Regions from separate parts of the Homo sapiens genome. Here region 1 is linked to region 2. The links are contacts of gene promoters, found by promoter capture Hi-C in human tissues and cell types (Jung and others, 2019). All regions are on one chromosome and are shown on one strand. Each heading gives the region's core, a stretch centred on a gene start or on the middle of the fragment in contact. The rest is flanking DNA. Distances are from core to core; before and after follow the strand shown. Region 1 has its middle 280 kb from the start of LINC01630. Region 2 holds the start of MRO (maestro).

Evidence for each region. The method cuts DNA at HindIII sites, captures the fragments that hold promoters and counts their contacts. A contact is called where the count stands out against the background at its distance.
Region 1: a fragment that was not itself captured here is called in contact with the fragment with the promoter of MRO in region 2 in 1 of the 25 tissues and cell types used here (lymphoblastoid cells).

Annotation. Positions count from the first base shown.
Region 1 is chr18:51,673,682-51,676,403 of GRCh38, forward strand. No RefSeq gene overlaps it. Among named protein-coding and RNA genes, the nearest start is that of LINC01630, 280 kb to the left of the region's middle. The HindIII fragment of the contact is 4,774 bases long and covers 1-2,722 here.
Region 2 is chr18:50,818,616-50,821,315 of GRCh38, forward strand. MRO (maestro) reads right to left here and starts at 1,401. Exons shown (of 8, transcript NM_031939.6): 1 at 1,282-1,401; 2 at 966-1,087. RefSeq lists enhancers at 1,086-1,719, 1,556-1,605. The HindIII fragment of the contact is 21,582 bases long and covers 1-2,700 here.

The sequences.
Region 1 (2,722 bases), core at 44-2,543, 850 kb after region 2:
TAAACATTAAGAAAGATAATATTGTTACCTAAAACATAGGTGGTCAGAGAAGAGGAAATGTGCTAATTTTATCATTGTTCAGAATAATAAATTAATATGTATGGTTTAAAGAAACAAAGAACAAAGGGGATTATGTACAATTATACATAACATTTTTCTATATCAGAATAAATATACCCAAAAATTCAAGCAAAAAAAATACTACACAATAAAAGAAAATCTCAGAAAAAAGAGAGAAAAAAAAACACAAAACTAGGCTGGGTGTAGTGGCTCACACCTATAATCCCAGCACTTTGGGAGGGCAAGGCAGGCGGATCACTTGAGGTCAGGAGTTCGAGACCAGCCTGGCCAACATGGTGAAACCCTGTCTCTACCAAAAATATAAAAAATTAGCTGGGTGTGGTGGTGCACTCCTGTAATCCCAACTACTCAGGAGGCTGAGGCAGGAGAATTGCTTGAACCAGGGAGGCAGAGGTGGCAGTGAGCCAATGTTGTGTCACTGCACTCCAGCCTGGGTGACAGAGCAAGACTCCTTCTCAAACAAAACAAAACACAACAAAAAACAAAACCAAAAAAACCCCATAAAACTAAATGGTAGATATAAGATGAACGTATTTCTTATATTAATTGATGAAGGGAACTTAACTCATTTCTCAGAAGAAGGAATTTCGAAGTGGATCAGAAAAACAAACCAAACTGTATGGTATATAGAAAACATAAGACAAAGTAATTCTGTAAAATTGAAAATTAGAGGTTTGAGTAAAGTTGTGCTAAAAAATGCAACAAAACAAAAAACAAAGCCAACCAACCAAACAAAATAAGATAAAAACTGACGAAACAAAATAAAACAAACAAGAAAAGAAACAAGAAAAAAAAGTAAACAAGCAAGAGTCTTAACATTAAAAATAGTAGAATTTAGGCAAAAATAAGGATTTAATATAACGAAAGGCAGTTTTATCCTATAGTGTGCACCTCATGAGTCTTTAATAATTATGCTTATCTACACATCAAATACCAATGGCACTCACGTTATAAAGTACAAATTACAAGAGATAAATAAAAAGGAAAGAAGAAACACAAGCACTAAGGGACTTTAATTCACCTCTTTCAATCTTTGATAGAGGAAGTGGAACATTGTGGGAAACAAAATAGTATGATTCACAGGTAGATAAGATGGATGTATCTCAAACTATACTTTGAAAATAGAGAACGCACATTTCTTCCATGTTTCTAGGGGATATTTAAAAAACTTAACTATAGAATAGGTCAATAGAGAAAAATCTCAATATGTTCCAGGAGGTAATGCAGACACAGTCATTTTTCACAATGTAATAAGAATAAAGCTTAACAACAAAATCAAATAATAAAATGTGCCTTCTAACTGGGATTTTTTAAAAGTTCTCTTATTCAACTTCTCCAGCAATAATGTCATATAATCAAAATATCATAATTTCTTAACAATAATTAATACACAGTGATTCAAACAACTTGACATGTAAAATATAGGCAAAGAAGTGAGGAAAAGAAAATTCACAGTTTTAAATATTTATATCAATAAGTATGCATGAATAAAATAAGTTAGATATCCAATTCAAAAAGTTAGTAAAACAGCAATAAACTACACTGAGGAAAAGCATAAAGAAGAAATTATTGTAAGTAAAATTGGAAATTAATCAATTGGAAAACTGAAAATCACAAACTTAAGCTACTTCCAAAAGCTGGCACTTTACAAAATAATAGAATAAATAAGGTAACAGGTAATCTAAACAAAGAGAAAAATATCTATTTCAGGAGAAGAGACAGGTAAGCAAAATATATAAAATAAGAAAATGAAAAAGGGAAATAACTACATAATTATAGAAAAATTTAAATCTACCTATGTTTTACCCAACTTCATGTAAATAATTTTGAAAATTTCATTTAAGTCAGTTATTTTCTAGGAAAAATAATTGATCAAAATTGACCCCAGAAGAGATAAAACTTATAATTTTGTTAATTTGAACAGAAGAAATAGGTAAACACACTAGATTCAGTTTTTCATATAGAGGAATTCAATCAAATCTTTAAAGAACATTTCAATTCTTCAAGAACAAAAATAAAAAAATCCATATTTTTAATGAAGTGAATAAACTATTGCTGTCAAAGCCTGATAAAGACTGTACTGAAAAGAAAGTTATAGAAAAATACCACATATGAAGATTAACTATCCCAAGTAAATCACAAATAAGCAGAATTCAGTACCTCATTAAAAGATTCATATATCTGAGGAAATAGATTTATTTTCTAGGAATGCAAGGTCCTCAGTATTAGAAAAATGAAATAATGTACCATTATAATTGACTGAAGGAGCAAAACAGACACTGAAAATGTTGATAACATTCAACAATTATTATTGCTCAAAACAGCAAAAAATATCAATTTTCAACGTAATAAAATATACCTATCTTAGCCCAAAGTCAACGGTATGTTTAATGAGGGAAATACTAGAGATAATTCCTCTGAAGTCAGAAACTAAACATGATTACATAATTACTAGGTAACATTAGTTACTGCTGGTATTCACCAACACAATTAGAAAAGAAATTAGAAAGCTAGAAACAAAAAATAAACCTATGAAAAGTTGGAGTTGATATGATGAATAATCTAAGGTAAGAAACAGAAATACGCAACAAAGAGTAAGAATATTCAATAAAATAGTGGAGTAAAAAAATAGCACACAGAA
Region 2 (2,700 bases), core at 151-2,650:
TCAATAATCCTTTTATTTATTGAAGCCAAAAGGTATATTATGAAGGCCAAAATTATAAAACACTTTGATTTTATCTCATCTGTAAAATGAGCAGAAGAAACTGTTAGATTGCTTAAAAATCCTTCCAACACTGAACTTATAAATGACAATAGTAGGCTGCGTGTGGTGGCTCATGCCTATAAATCCCAGCATTTTGGGAGGCTGAGGCAGGCAGATTGCTTGAGGTCAGGAGATCAAGACCAGCCTGAGCAACATGGTGAAACCCCGCCTCTACTAAAAATACAAAAATTAGCCAGACATGGTGGTGCACACCTGTAGTCCCAGCTACTCAGGAGGCTGAGGCAGAAGAATCACTTGAACCCAGGAGACAGAGGTTGCAGTGAGCCGAGATCGGGCCACCGCACCCCAGCTTGGGCAACACAACAAGACCCTGTCTCAAAAAAATGAAAAAAAAAATTAATATTAAAAAAATCGTCTTCATTTTAGAAAAGAAGAAACTGGGCTTAAAGTAATGTTGAACAATTAACTCAAAGTCAAATACTGGCAGAGCAGATTTTAGGACTCTGAAAGATATCCTTTCAGTCACTGTGCTATAAGCCTAGGTTCAGCTCCCAGGCAATGTCCTGTGAGCTGAACGAGGGAAGACAGACCGCATAGACATTTCAGTTTAAAGTGTCAATATCTTCCCTGAGTCCCTGCCATTCTATTATATTGCTGACAATAGAATGATCTATAACCCAACTATTGATCGATTAACATAGTTTGTGAAAAGCAAACAAAATCAGCTTCCTGGTCAACATTGCCCACTTCAGTTTTACAAAGAGAACATTACCAAATCCTACCCCCTAGAGGTCGAGCTCCCATACTGGTGACCAGAGTGACATTCCAGAAAGGTTTTGGGAACCCAAGTGCAGCCAGGACGCCTCCCGCTGCATCTGGCTGCCCCGGCCAACAGTGTCCCTTACCTGCGGCTCCTGCAGGCGGCTGCCACGTGATGAACCGGAGCCCGTTCCTGACTCGGGAGGGCTGCTTTCCCGGGTAGTAGCCAAATGTGATGACTCGGCTAAATTTTCCCAGCCCTGAATTCCTAACATACAAGAAGGGAAATTAGGAGGTGACGCAGGGTCTGTCCAGGATAACGGGTCGGCACAGAGTGTTGGAAAGTGAGAATCAAATAAGAGGGGAAAGTCAAAGTTTATAGAGTATTTGGGCAGGGGAGGGAATTGTTCTGGAATGAAACCGACAAGAATATTGTAGGGTGGCACAAGCATGACTTGCTACCTTTGCTTCCCCACGCCATGCTGAGGTGTTTTTCCTTCTCCTTGCTGTGATTTCCCCTCCTTCTTCCCTCATGCCAGCCTGGTCGACACTTTCTGCAGAAATTCTGCAGATGGCAATTCTGGGGACCTTTCCTCTGCACCAAACAAAACCTCCCTGCCAAGGCCCGTTCCCCATGCGGCCGCGAGATGGCGGCATGACTCAATGGACGGGTTCCAGGCGACCCCTGCACAAAGCCGCCGCCGTGGCTGCCTCCTTCCTTACATAATCCTGTTAGAGCGCATTTAATCTAAGGATGGGACACTGTGTTCCATGCCAAGCAGCCTCATCGTGGCTGATTGTTGCACCAACAACAAGAGCTTTAACCGTTGACGTCCCTTCCTGCTCAAGAAACACCGTATGTCCCGAAAGGAGCGATTTAAGCTCTCAAAATGATTTATTGGTAAAAAGCAAAGCAAAATTAAAACCGGGGAATTACAGCACCTGCAGAATTTAGGAGCCTCTCTCTCTCATCAGCCCTCCTTCCCTGACTCTCCAAACACGTGCATAAATCTATTTAACAATAATTAGTTATCGTCTCGCTCTGCATTGGGTCATAAAGGGAGAAAATATGTCCTGAAAGGAAAAAAGAACAGTTATATTTTCAAAGACAGAGGCACTTATTGTTATGCTAATAGATAACATTCAATTAAAACTTCTGTGTGCCAAATGTTGTGATAAATATTACATAGACTATCTCATTCAATTGTTACATCAAACCAAAGGTTAATACTCCTACTATAGTCTCCATTTTAAGGCTGGAGAAACTGAGGCACAGGGAGATTACCTTGACAAAGGTCATGCAGTTAATTTGTGGCAGTTAAAATTCAGCTACAGGCAGGCTAATGTAAGAGCTTGGACTCAGCCATGATGCTATGCACTGGACTGGTCTAGAAAACCCAGGAGATAAACAGAAAAATATAAACCAGAGAACTATGTCAGAGTGGAAGATGAAAGAAAAAGGCAGAAAGAAAATCGATGCTGCTGAGAAAATAAGAAGAATGAGGCTAAAACACCACCCTCTTCAGATTAAGTTACAAGGGAACCACTGTGACATTTGAGGACACAATTTCAATAGAGTGACAGAGAAAGGAAGCTAGACTGCAAAACTAAGGGGCTATGAGGAAAGAGGAAATTGAGATGTCTTGCTGCAAAAGGAAAGCAATAAATAGACTAGAAGAGACAGCAAGGTCAGGCAAAAGCATTTTGGTTTTCTTGTGTGCTTTTTGAAATGGAATAAAGCCTGGCCTTGTTTGAAAGTGGTTGCAAGGGAGCCCTAATATGTGGCTGGTGCCAAGTAGTGGTAATAGGAAGAGGTGGAGGGGGCATCAAGGGCACGAGGGAAAGGGTTAGCTCTGGAGGAGGAAGAAAGATGGCTGCCTC